Regions from separate parts of the Homo sapiens genome. Here region 2 is linked to region 1. Evidence: promoter capture Hi-C in 16 types of primary human blood cells and fetal thymus (Javierre and others, 2016). All regions are on one chromosome and are shown on one strand. Each heading gives the region's core, a stretch centred on a gene start or on the middle of the fragment in contact. The rest is flanking DNA. Distances are from core to core; before and after follow the strand shown. Region 1 holds the start of ZNF621 (zinc finger protein 621). Region 2 has its middle 20 kb from the start of EIF1B.

Region 1 (6,453 bases), core at 2,407-4,906:
TGCTAATGAATGCGAAATGGGACAGCCACTTTGGAAGACAGTTCGTCAATTTCTTACAAACTAAACACACTCTTACCATACAACCCAGCAGTCATGCTCCTTGGTGCTTAACTAAATTTAGGAGTTGAAAACTTATGTCCACATAAAAACCTGTACATGGACATTTACAGGGGCTTTTATTCATCATCGCCAAAACTTGGAAGCAACCGAGATGTCCTTCAGTAGGTGAATGGATAAGCTGTAGTATATATAGACAATGGAATATTATTCAGCACTAAAACAAAACGATCTATCAAGCCATGAAAAGACACAGAGGAAACGAAATGCATTACCACTAAATGAAAGAAGTCAATCTGAAAATGCTACGTACTGTGTGATTCTGGCTATATGACATTTTGGAACTGGCAAAACTATGAAGAGAATACAAAAATCAATTGATGGTTGTCAATTGGGACGGGACTAAGGGGAAAGTAAGGATGGATAAGAGGAGCATAAGGTATTTTTAGGGCAGTGAAACTATTCTGCTTATATAATACTATAATAGTGGATATGTGTCATCCATCAAGAGTGAACCCTAATGTAAACTATCAACTTTGGATGACAATGATGTGTTAGTGTAGGTTCACTCCTTGTCACAAACGTGTTACTCTGGTGTGGAATATTAATATTGAAGAAGGTTGTGTGTTTTGTGGTGGCAGGAGATAAATGGGAACTCTTGCTTTCTGCCCAATTTTGTTATCAACTAAAACTGCTCTAAAAAACTATTTTAAGTACCAGTGTTGAATCGTTTCAGGGTAAGTTATTTCTCAATCAAACCACATATGCTGTTTAGGACATATCAGAGAATAAGGAAAGAAAAAAAGCATTTCCATTCTTTTAAAGACACTGACATTTTACTGTGCTGATACCAGACTTGTATTTGAACTTCTATCAGAACTTGTATATACATGTGTAGGGGCAGGGAATATATGGGAAATCTCTGTACCTTCCATTTAATTTTGCTGTGAACCTAAAACTGCTCCAGAAAATAAAAACTACAAATAAATTAATTACATTAAAAAGTAAAATGCAGCCTGGCCAACATGGTGAAACCCCATCTCTACTAAAAATACAAAAATAAGCCCAGCATGGTGGTGTGCACCTGTAATCCCAGCTACTCAGGAGGCTGAGGTAGGAGAATTGCTTGAATCCGGGAGGTGGAGGTTGCAGTGAGCTGAGATCATGCCACTGCACTCCAGCCTGGGTGGCAGAGTGAGACTCTGTCTCAAAAAAAAAAAAAATTTAAAAATGGACAACACTTGCCAGGCACAGTGGCTCACGCCTGTAATCCCAACACTTTGGGAGGCTGAGGCAGGCGGATCACCTGAGGTCGGGAGTTCGAGATCAGCTGACCAACATGGAGAACCCCCGTCTCTACTAAAAATACAAAAATTAGCCGGACGTGGTGGCGGGCACCTGTAATTCCATCTACTCGGGAGGCTGAGGCAGGAGAATCACTTGAACAAGGGAAGTGGAGGTTGCAGTGAGCGAAGATCGCACCATTGCACTCTAGCCTGGGTGTTGCAGTGAGACTCCATCTCAAAAAAACAAACAAACAAACAAAAAACAGGTGCATGCCTGTAATCCCAGCTACTTGGGAGGCTAAGGCAGGAGAATTGCCTGAACCTGGGAGGTGGAGGTTGCGGTGAGCCGAGATAGCGCCATTGCACTCAAGCCTGGACAACAAAGGCGAAACTCCGTCTCAAAAACAAAAAAAATAAAAGGACAACACTTAATATCTTCTTAATTGACCAACACCTTTCTACCATCAATTTGCCACTAAGGGCTAGGAAAATCTTTTTAATATGTAAATCCAACCATGTCATCCCCCTGCTTAAAATTCTTCAGTGCCTTCCCAATGAACCAGTACAGAAACCACTGTCCTCACCATGACCTATAATACAGGTATCTATTTCTTCCATCTCATATTGAACCACTTTCTCTGACCCCTTCCAGTTTCTAGAGTACATCCAGCTTTCTCTGCAACTTCAGAGTCCTTGCATCTAGCATTTAGAAAATGTATATTAAAGCAACAATACTAGTCTCTCTGGGATACATACAATACAATTTGTGGGCAATCTCTCCAATAAAGAATTTCTGATTTCAAGCTAGTGCGGTGGCTCATGCCTATAATCCCAGCACTTTGGGAAGCCGAAGCGGGTGGATCACCTGAGCTCAGGAGTTCAAGACCAGCCTGGCCAACGTGGTGTAAACCCCGTCTCTACTAAAAATACAAAAATTAGCCACACGTGGCGGCGCACATCTGTAATCCCAGCTACTTAGGAGGCTGAGGTATGGGAATCACTTGAACCCAGGAGGCAGAGGCTGCAGTGAGCCGATATCATAGTGCCACTACACTCCAGCTTGGGCGACAGAGTGAGACTCCGTCTCACAAAAAATGAGTCTGATTTCAGTAGGTGACTTTCATTTCTAGAACACGATCTGGATTTCCACATTCAGAAAGAATTTCTTGGTATAGGTCCCCTTTCTTCCATTTAAATCTATACATCCAAACTCATCACTCTCTATACACAAAACTTTCATTTCCCCAGCACATATTTACATCTGCCATAGCCCTGGAGATAGATACAAAGGGGAAAACACAGCTTGGCCAAGTTAGGCCTTCCTCATCCTTTCCTGATTATCTGATAGCTAATGTGAGTAAAAAAACATAAACAAACAAACAAAAAAACTGAAAGAAGCTCAGCTCACCTGAGGCCAAGTTGTTTGGAGCATGGCGGATGTCCCCTGGCTTCATGCACTGTCTTCTGGGTTTGGACAAGCAAGATCCTCAAGAGCTAAGAGAAAAAGAGCCATGAGTGCTAAGGACCCTGTCGTCCACCACCTACAGCAACCTATGGCCCTCCCAGTTTCCACATTTCCAGCACTGGATGCACGGAGATTCTACTAGGACTCCCTCTAATTGTTCTCACGCTGATAGCCCCAAACTTCTTATGAATTGTTCTGCCTAGTCTTCAGGACAATCTTCCACCTGCCTGCTCAGTCCGAAGAGCTTTTTTTGAGCCCATTCGTACGGGTAAACTGAGGGACCCAAGAGCCCTGTCCCTATTGTGTTGGGTCTCTACAAACGTAAAGAGTCTTTACAGAATGCTTACAGGGACGATGACGTGGACCCAAAAGAAAGAACCTCAGGAGAAGAGGGACTGGGGTGGCTGAATGCGGATTAAGGGTAAAATACTCAGCGTCCCAGTGGGTGATGCTGACCGGAGACCCCACCCAACCGTGATCTTAACACTCCACCCAAGAAAACAGGCAACCCCAAACATCAGAAACGTCAGTACCGGGAGCCAGAGGCTGTCAGGGCAAGTTCTTTAGGGCAGAAAAGAGGATCAGGCCTCGGTGGCAAAGGGCTGGACACGGGCTCTAGAAGCCCGAGCAGCCACCTTGACGGCTTCGGCGAGGCCCAGATGCCCACGGTCCGGGTGAAGGAGGGGCGGGCCGCCATTGGGACCAAGTTCAGGGGTAGTGGGGGCTGACGAGCCGCCAGGGGCAGCGAGGAAGCCGGCACCGGGCGGACCTGGCACGTAGAACTCGCTGAAACCCACGCTCTGCAGAACGCCGAGGAGCTGGTCACTAACTAAAGGCCGAGCCGGAAGGGCGAGTGCACGCCCAGGGTCCCTCTAGGCCCCCGGAGGCCGCCATCTCGGTCGCCCCGTGGCCAGACCCGCCCCGCCTTTCATGGCTGGCCCCGCCCTGCGGAAGAGGCGAGGTTGCGGCGACCGGCTGGGCTGAGAGGCCGGCGGCGGGCGTGGAACTGTGGCGCTCTAAGCCCGGCTTTCTCCGGCAGCCGTCGGCATCGCCTCTGGCTGGAGTGTCACGGACTGATACAGCCTGGCTCTACCGAGACCTCGCCCTCTAGGCACAAGTGGGCCCCCAGTTCACGGGCTGCGCCTCAGCTGTTGGCCGCCTTGGCCCCGTGGCTCACCTGAAGCCTGGGCCGTGCAGGTGAGGGGAGAATGGCGCCTGCTTTGTCATCTCTAAGAGGCCCAAGCCCAGGATCTTGCTTGGGTCCTCAGCTGGGCAGTCCTCAGGGAAACCATGGTTTCCACTCGCCGTTTTAGCCCTCTCCCTTCCAAGGACCTAGATGTGCGTAGAACCTTTTAGGACAGATTCATTTAACAACCAAAACACCCGTGGCTACATACAGTTGCTAGGCATCCTGTATACACAGGACATGTCCTATATTAAATGATCTTGTCCTGTGTTGACTTTGGGAGGACACCCTAAATGTCTTATATTTAGCTTTTTCCAATAAATTACAAAAACTCGTAGTTACAGCTATTTTTCTGCTCAGTAACTGGCACTTAAATAAAATGTTAACACCAGCTGAAATATATATATCTCATACTTCCATAAATAATGATCTGGACAGACCTTTATGGTCTGTTCTGTTAGTTGGACTGCAGGAAGAAAAAACAGTGAAGAGGGGAGGCTGCTAATTAAAAGAACTTACTTTTCATATTCAGGAAAGGAAAAGACTGTTTTTTGACCAAAGTCCCAAGTCACTAACAAGTACTTGCCATTAATTTACATAATTTTAGATCAGTACACGTACTCTGAAAATCAACCAGTACACAACAGCCTCACTCCAAGCTTCTGAACATGAGCCAGTCAGTGATAAACACTTCCCGAAGCCAGCCAGTGGCAGCTCTACCCAGCTCATTGGCAAGTACCTCACTACTGTGCCCTTCCTTCTGGACAGGAGCCTTTCTCCAGTATCAAAGTGGTTGCTAAGATGGACAGACTTTGTTTTTTTTTTTTTTGCTTGTTTTTTGTTTGTTTGTTTTTTTGAGACGGAGTCTCGCTCTGTCGCCCAGGCTGGAGTGCAATGGCGCAATCTCGGCTCACTGCAAGCTCTGCCTTCTGGGTTCACGCCATTCTCCTTCCTCAGCCTCCCGAGTAGCTGGGACTACAGGCACCCCGCCACCACGCCCAGCTAATTTTTTGTATTTTTAGTAGAGACGGGTTTTCACCGTGTTAGCCAGGATGGTGTCGATCTCCTGACCTTGTGATCCGTGCACCTCGGCCTCCCAAAGTGCTGGGGATTACAGGCGTGAGCCACCGCGCCCGGCCCAGACTTTGTTTTACTTTAATCACGCTGATAACTTCTCCTGAACACAGTTCCAGATACCAGGCTCCTCACCACCAAGCATTTCCATGCTATAAAGGGGAATTGGTCTCCCACCACTAAAAGATAAAAAATGATCCTGGATATCTAGATATATTGCTTTATTACAGGGGTCCCACTTCTTGGATTTGTTATTCCTTTCTTAAGAATTAGACTGACTTATGAAGTCCTATTATGGAGAGTATCTTAGGTATCTACTGCTGCATAACAAATCACCCTAAAACCTTATGGCTGAAAACAAAACACACTTATTATCTCTTAAAGTTTCTATGAATCAGTGAACATAGTCAGTCAGTCCTAAAAAGAGAAAAAGGAAAAAAAAAAAAGGTTCTGTGGATGAGGAATTCGGGAGTGGCTTGGCTGGATGGTACTGGCTTGGGATCTCTCATGAGGGTCTAGTCAGGTGTCACCTGGGACTGCAGTCACTTGAAAGTTGGACTGAGGCTGGGGATTTGCCTCAAAGGTAACTCACTCACATGGTTGGCACATAGATGCCAGCTATTAGTGTGAAACTTCCCTTCCTGCGCCGGGTGCAGTGGCTCAGACCTGTAATCCCAGCAATTTGGGAGGCCAAGGCAGGCAGATCACCTGAGGTCAGGAGTTTGAGGCCACCCTGGCCAACATGGCGAAACCCTGTCTCTACTAAAAATACAAAAATTAGCTGGGCGTGGTGGCGGGCACCTGTAACCCCAGCTACTTGGGAGGCTGAGGTAGGAGAATCACTTGAACCCAGGAGGCGGAGGTTGCAGTGAGCCAAGATCCCGCCACTGCACTCCAGCCCAGGATATAGAGCAAGACTGTCTCAAAAAAAAAAGAAAAGAAAAGAAAAAGAAGCCTCCCTTCGCACACCGCGTATCTGTACATGGCTGAGTATCCTCACAACACAGGAGCAGACTTCCACTTCCATCTCAGGTGAGTAACCCAAGAGGTCAAGGCAGAAGTGGCAATATCATTTATGTCCTAGCTTTGGAAGTCACACTCTGTCATTTCCTCAATATACTATCATCACAGGCCAGTCATGATTCAGTGTTGGATACACAAGGGTGTGAATGCCAGAATGAGAATCACTGGGGACCATTTTGGGAGCTGGCTAAACACATTTTTTACCTACCACAGAAACAGTCCTTTCTATAATCTATAGTACTTTTATTGTAACATTTATGAAGCACAATTGTTTTAAATAGATGAATTAGATTTCCAAGAACAATAGCATTAGAACATATATTTATACACTGCCCCTTCTCTAAGCCTATCAAAAAGAGTAT
Region 2 (7,018 bases), core at 2,308-4,807, 200 kb after region 1:
CGTTCTTGGGGACAGACCTAACTTTCATGGGTGTCAATGAGCGCTTTGTCCCGTGGTCTCCCTATTCTGGTGTACGTGTGAAGTGGAGGAGGGTCAATTTCTCAGCTTCTGTCCCCTTCAGGGGGTGTACTCAGAGCTGCGTGTTAGACTTCCCTGACCATTTTATCCAGAGCAGAACCAGGCTCCAAGGACCCCAGGAAATGGAGTGCGCGGACCTTCACAGTAATATCAGCAGTGCTAACAATAACTATACCGACGAAGTTCAGCAAGCACTCACTGTGCAGAGTGCAAGCTCAGGCAGTCATGCATCATCACACTCACTCATTCACTCCTCCCCGCAACACCGCAGCTCTGCCGGCACTTGCATCTTCCTTTTCACTCTCCAGGCCTAGTGCTCTCACAAGGCCAGCTGAAACAAATCTCTGGCGTGCTCATTGCTCTGCTCTCCTCAGGGTCCCTCATGATCCCTCCTTTCAGACAGCTGCAGCTCCTACCACCAACGGCTGGATTATTTTCTTATTTCCCATCTCAAATTTCTGAAAGCAAGAACATCCCAGTCTGCTGGGACCTGAGACTTATGCAGTTTTAGAGACCCCCTTTAAGAAAGGAATAAAAGCATATGAATGAATGCAATACTAGGCTCAGGGGCAAGGAGGAGGCCTGGACAGGCGAGGCACCAGAAAGTCCCAGTGTGTTTGTTTCAGGGTGAGTCGGCCTCTGCTAGAGTCTAATAATACGTTTTTATTCTGGTGGTTGGGGTGGAGTGGGGTGACAAGCCATGGTACCAAACCCAGTTATTAAAAGCTGGTGCATTTGAGCATGGTCCCTGTCTCTGATGTTCTCCTCTCAACCACGCAAGGAGGCCCGGTCTTCCAGAGTGGACTCAGCCACCTCACCATTTCATGTGTATTCATCCAGAAACTGGGCTTGGGAGAAACTTCCCTGGGGCCTTGGGCTAAGAAGCACGCACTCCATGGAGTTCTGCAGGCAAAGGTGCAGACATGAGGTAGGGAATCGTCAGTGGTCATTTGGTGTCCCATACATTCCTTGTTCCTTGTGTGTACAGCTCCCTTAAAGATGTTATGGAGATAAGGGATGGCTGGACCCAGCCAAGTTGGGGGCATTTGTAGGGTTCATGGACCCAGGCCAAATTGTTATCTTAAAACTACTGAAATCTTTCCATGGTTCCTAACACCCATCTCTGATTATTTCCCTAGCATAGGTGCCTGAATGTGAAAAGATATGAACATTTTAAGGAGCTTGACATAAAATTTCATTTGCATGAAATTCATTCAAATTCATTCAAATGTCATTTCAGAAAGTCATACCAATTCACATTTTCTCCAAAGAGATGTGCGTTTCCACTGTACAGTGGCTTCACCAACAATGGATGCCACCATTTAAAATAATTTTATTTATTGTTTTTCTCTATCTACAAAAGTAATAATGATGTTCTTTATAAAAGTTTTAATGTTGACAGAAATATACAACTGAGAAAATGAAAGCCCTCCCATTCCTCCTATTCCCTTGGGTAACAAATGCAGAGTGGCTTCTCCTAGGTTCATCATCAAATCGGGCACCATAACTTCCAGGCTCCTCCTCCTGGGTCCCTTAAGCAGCCATTTGGGAAAGACCAGGTGCAAAAAGGTTCTTGGGCATAGACCTGACTTTCATGGGTGTCAATGAGCGTTTTGCTCCCAACTATCCAGAGATAACCCCCATAAACCGTTAGATGAATATTTATTTATGCAGATATCTTCTGCGTTTATGTTATGATGGAATTTTGGGGCTTTGTTTTTTAACCAAAATGATGTCACACCAGATATACTTCTTCAAAACTAGCGTTTTTAGTGTTCCATATGGATTTCTTCTGGGCCCTCTTTATACATTCCTAAAGAAACTCATTCATTCATGGCTTTAAAAATATTCTATGGGCTGATACCTCCTGAATTTATGTCTTCTCTGAGCTCCAGACTTACAAATCCAACTAGTTGCTTGACATCTCTGATTGGATGTCTCTTAGGCATTTAAAACTTAACATGTTCAGGGTAGGTGTGATGTCTCACACCTGTAATCCCAGCACTTTGGGAGGTTGAGGTGGGAGGAACATTTGAGCCCAGGATTTTAAGACCAGTTGGGCAACATAGTGAGACCCTGTCTCTATTAAAAAAAAAAAAATTCAACATGTTCAAAATGGAATTCTTGTTTCCACTCCTCAATCCTGTCTTTCTACCCCAGCCTCCCTCATTTTAATAATGTCACTCCCAGCCACCCAATTTCCAAAGATAAAATCCTGGAAGTCATCTTTTCCTTGCCACTTATGGCCAACACAACAGCAAGTCCTGTTAATTCTATCTCCAAGCGAGTCTCTTGTCCACCCACTTCTCTGCCTCTTTACCACCATCATTCCACGTGTAGTAGCCTCTCATTGGCCTTTTCGCCTCTGCTCTTGCTTTCTGTACGTTCCTCTCTCTGACTAACAGCCATAATCAGCTTCTTAGAATAAATCCAATTGTTCTGCTCCCATGCTTGGAACTCATCAATGCCCTCAGATAGCATTCATGCATCTTGCCATGGTCTGTGAGGCCCTGTCTAATTGGCTTGCTTCTCAGCTTCACTCCTCTCATGCCAACCTATGTCCCCATCCTGTGCTCCAATCACTCAGGTCCACTGCTTTCTCACGGGAAGACTTTGCGTTTGCCAAGCCCTCCTTCTGAAGCTTGCCACCTCCCACTCTTTGCCTGCCTAAATCCTTTTCAGTTCTCATTGATTTAACCATTCTCCTGTTGTTTCAAAATTTTCAGTGTTATAAACAATAGTGCATTGAACATCTGAATGCATTCAATTTTGTCCCACGGCTTGATTGTTTACTTGTCATAAATTCCCAGAAGTGAATTGCTAGAGGGAAGGGAATTCTTATGTTAAATTTTGGTGTGCACAACATTGTAATGTCTTCGTGATCCTGCTGATTTTCCTCCCTATATTCATCCTCCCAGGAGAAGCAGACCCCAGATGAGGGTTTCAGTGCATGTGGTTTCCCCTGTTGCCAAGCAGGAAGCCCCACTCCCTGCCTTCCAGGAGTGCAGATACCCCTTGGATGGAAGCCTGGAGGCCCCTCCAGGCCTGCCTGCAGCCCTCTGAGTCAAGGGCTTTGTAGGGGTCTGTTTGGTGACTGGTCTTCCCCACTTTCTCCTACTTCCATCTTTCACTAGAGTGTTGGAGCTGTCTTTCTAGGCTGCCTTTGGCCCCATCCTTATGATAGATAACAGAAAAATGCTGCTGTTTCAGACAGATACAGGGTACCTTTTTCTAGTTTCCAGAATGAAGGCAGGTTTTTCCATATTTTTATATTCTGTAGGCTAGTGTTTCAAACATGCCTGATCTCACGAATCCTTCTGAGCACTTGTTAGAAATGTAAGCCCCTCTCCTCCACAGAGATTCGAGTTCAGGATCTGGGAGATGACAGGTCTTAAGAGTTTGTGTTTTTCACAGTGTCCTGGTAATTTTAATGATCAAGGAAGTTTAGAAAATGATTCCATAGGTCATTTCCATGAGGCACTAGAAGTAGCTCCAGGTGTTCAACTCCAGTATTCACATTGCCATTTTATGCGTAAGTCTCACATTTCCTAAAAAGCATAACCAAGCACTTTCTATGGCAAGGCATTGAATTTGATGCCATACACATCATCTCATTTTGTGCCGAGAATAGTCATTCTGATCCGAGGCACAATTATCCTTAAGTTGCTGCTGAGAAAACTGAGGCTGTGAGAGACTGGCTGGCTTTGGCTTGATCAGGCCATAAAGCTGGAAAGTGGTAGAGCCCGAATCTGAATCCAGGGCTTCTGATTCTGAGTCCTGGCATGGCAGGCCAGGTCTCACTAACAGCTGAACAGGCAAGCCTCCATGACAACTGTTGCGGCACTGACTGAGTGGTTAGGTTAAATATTAAAAGCTAATAGAGCCAGTCTCCTTATGCAAAGGCTGGAATGTAACAAAGCCCACCAAGAGTTTTGCCTAGGCCTTTCCTGGGCCTTGAAGCCTGACACGATAACGAAGGAATTCTTAACAGGACCCATGTAGGATTAAACAAGTTTTATTGGGGGTCTGAAGAAACTCCCCAGACCTCCACAAACAAGTTTTACTGGGCAGGGGGGTGGGGAGGATGGTCTAAAGGAACTCCTCAAACCTCCATGATTTAGCAGGAGACGAGATAAGGGTAATCACTCCGGCACCTGGAGCCATCTAGATTAAGTAAATTTACTGAGGCTCCAGAGAAAGGTCTTCAAAACTCAGACCTTAGTTATATTAGGAGAAGTTAACCACTTATGTCTTTAGATGAATGCACTTACACATAGACATATAGCTTAGAAGGTATATAAACAATGGAAAGCTTTGTAATTTTAAGTTGGTCTGCCTACCCGGTTACAGAAATAAATTCTCTTCTCTCCCAGTTCATCTGCATCTCATTACTGGGCCTTGAGAATAAGCAGCCCGACCCTGGGTTTGATCCGGTAACACTGGGGCATCTCTGAATCAACCACATTGATGCCTGTCATTATGCCACTCTGCACTGCCACGAACCTCTACTCCTCAGAATGTGGCCTGCAAACCCAGATGGCCGGTATCCCCTGGGAGCTTGTTAAAAATGCAGAGCCTTGGGCCACTCCAGGCCTCCTGAGTTGGAATCTGCATTTTAATAAACTTGCCTGGTGACTCTCATTCATATTAAAGAATAAGAAGCCCTCAGGAGGCTGCAGAGGGATTGGAGATCAGGTCACTTGAGAGAGAGAAGGGGAATGAGTGTGTGTGTGGGGGGGGGGCGGGTGTGTGTGTGTGTGTGTGTATACTTGTGAACACAGGCCAGGCATATGTGTAGTTTGGAAAGGTCTAACAGCTCAGAGGCACCATGTCTTCCCTCAGATAACATCACTTCCACATCCTGTTTGTTGGAAAATTGTTCCCAACTAAAGGCTAAGATTTTTAACTCTTGAAATTGAGTTATGTGCGGACTGCTCATTTGTGATCCAAAACGTCAGCTGAGAGACTGCACCAAGAGAAACCTCTCCAGGGAATGGCTGAGTAGCTTTCGCAAACATAGGGACACAGGAAAGCAAGTGCTTCTTCCTTCTGGGAGGTTTCTAGACTTCTGGAATGAGAGGTCCCCTGAGGGTGCATTGCCAGACATTTCTCTGCATCTTTAAAACCAGAGTTTTTATTTGTTATGTTTTTTTCTTGAGTGCCTAGAGGATCTAAGAGTTTAGCCAGTATCATATAACCTCTCAACTCTTCTGATGTTGGACCTTTTCTCTGAAACAAACTCAAAGACAAGCAAGCAAATTAGATGACTACAGCATACAAAACATAAAGGCTGGACCTAAATGGGTCAATAGCACCATCTCTTGGCCATGTGTGAGTACTGCATCTACCAGTTTTCAACTAGTGAAAGTACAAAACACACCTGTGGATTTGCGGTTAACTAAAGCAGAGTAAAAATATCCCTGCCACACTGTGAGGCATAGAAACACCCAAGATAATGAGAAAGTGGAAAGTTAATGCTGTCTTCAAGGAAATCAGTTAACACCTAATTATATCCACATGTAATATTTGAATTAGTTTTGCCACAAGTAGTGAAAACGAACAAGGTTGAGGAGGATGCCAACAGCACTGCGTATTTCTGAAGGCTTTGAGCAGGGCGATAGACCACAGAGCTCCCCAAGGAGTGGAGGACACCTTATTAAACAGGCATTAGAAAATGGTTGTATGTAGGCCGGACGCGGTGGCTCACGCCTGTAATCCCAGCACTTTGGGAGGCCGAGGCGGGCGGATCATGAGGTCAGGAGATCGAGACCGTCCTGGCTAACACGGTGAAACCCTGTCTCTACTAAAAATACAAAAAATTAGCCGGGCGTGGTGGCGGGCGCCTGTAGTCCCAGCTACTCGGGAAGCAGAGGCAGGAAAATGGCGTGAACCCGGCAGGCGGAGCTTGCAGTGAGCTGAGATCGCTCCACTGCACTCCAGCCTGAGCGACAGAGCGGGACTCCGTCTAAAAAAAAAGAAAGAAAGAAAGAAAAGAAAATGTTTGCACGTGAATGTTAACAAAAATACTAAATATCAAAATCTGCAGGCTGCGCAAGGGAAATTTACATCCTTACGTGCTTACATTCGAAAAGAAGTTAAAAGTTAATGGGCTAAGCAACTAAATTGAGAAGTTACAAAAAGAATATGCAAAGAAAGTAGGAGGAAGAAAACTCATAAGGGAAGAAACTAATAAAACAGAAAATAAGCATGTAATAGGAAGAATCACTAAAGCTAGAGGTTGGTTTTTTGAAAAGATGAAAGAATAAAAACTGATAAGCCTCTGGCAACACTGATCAAGAAAAAAAAAAAGAGAAAAGTTGCCAAAAAAAAAAAAATGGAGCTATAACTACAAAGGGTTAGTCCCAGGGTTCCACAGCTCTGCTTGTAAAAAGACGATTGAAATTCCACATTAGATCTCACCCTTTCACATTTTCATATCCTTTCCTCTTTGATTTCCATAAAGATAGCATGACCAATGTTTTCTCCCTTGATATGTAATAATGAAAAGCTAACATTTGTTAAATGCATATTATGTGCAAAGCACTATGCAATAAAATCCCCACAATGAGTCCCTGAGGCTATCATCATCATCTCCACTTTATAGGTATGGAAACAGAGGCTTGGGAGATATATCTCCACTTTATATATATGGAAATGGAGGTATCTCTCAGTTTGTTAGAAATCAACAAACTGAGGCTTTTTGATTTCTAATATGGCACAGCTAGAAATCAACAGCACCAGGATTTTGACTGGGCAGTCAGGGCTTAGAGCGTCTCCTGGTCACAGGAGCTGACAGCAGAGCCAGGACAGAATCTAGGCCTTTTAGCAAAAAGTCCTCATGACACCAACACTGCCTGTGTCAAAAAGGCAATTCTGAATGATGTTTTATTTTTTTCTCTCCCTCTCTAAATTGAACAAGGATGTGTGTTGCAACTCTGGA

What was found. Contacts are between HindIII fragments. The CHiCAGO score rates a contact against its expected background, and 5 or more counts as called.
Region 2: a contact is called between a fragment that was not itself captured here and the fragment with the promoter of ZNF621 in region 1, in 1 of 17 cell types (megakaryocytes). The highest score is 5.1, in megakaryocytes.

Annotation. Positions count from the first base shown.
Region 1 is chr3:40,522,163-40,528,615 of GRCh38, reverse strand. It overlaps ZNF621 (zinc finger protein 621), which reads right to left and starts at 3,656. Exons shown (of 5, transcript NM_198484.5): 1 at 3,342-3,656; 2 at 2,752-2,837. The coding sequence starts at 2,775. RefSeq lists enhancers at 3,175-3,314, 2,874-3,686, 3,965-4,054 and a silencer at 3,615-3,774. The HindIII fragment of the contact is 8,303 bases long and covers 1-4,655 here.
Region 2 is chr3:40,326,183-40,333,200 of GRCh38, reverse strand. No RefSeq gene overlaps it. Among named protein-coding and RNA genes, the nearest start is that of EIF1B, 20 kb to the right of the region's middle. The HindIII fragment of the contact is 1,671 bases long and covers 2,722-4,392 here.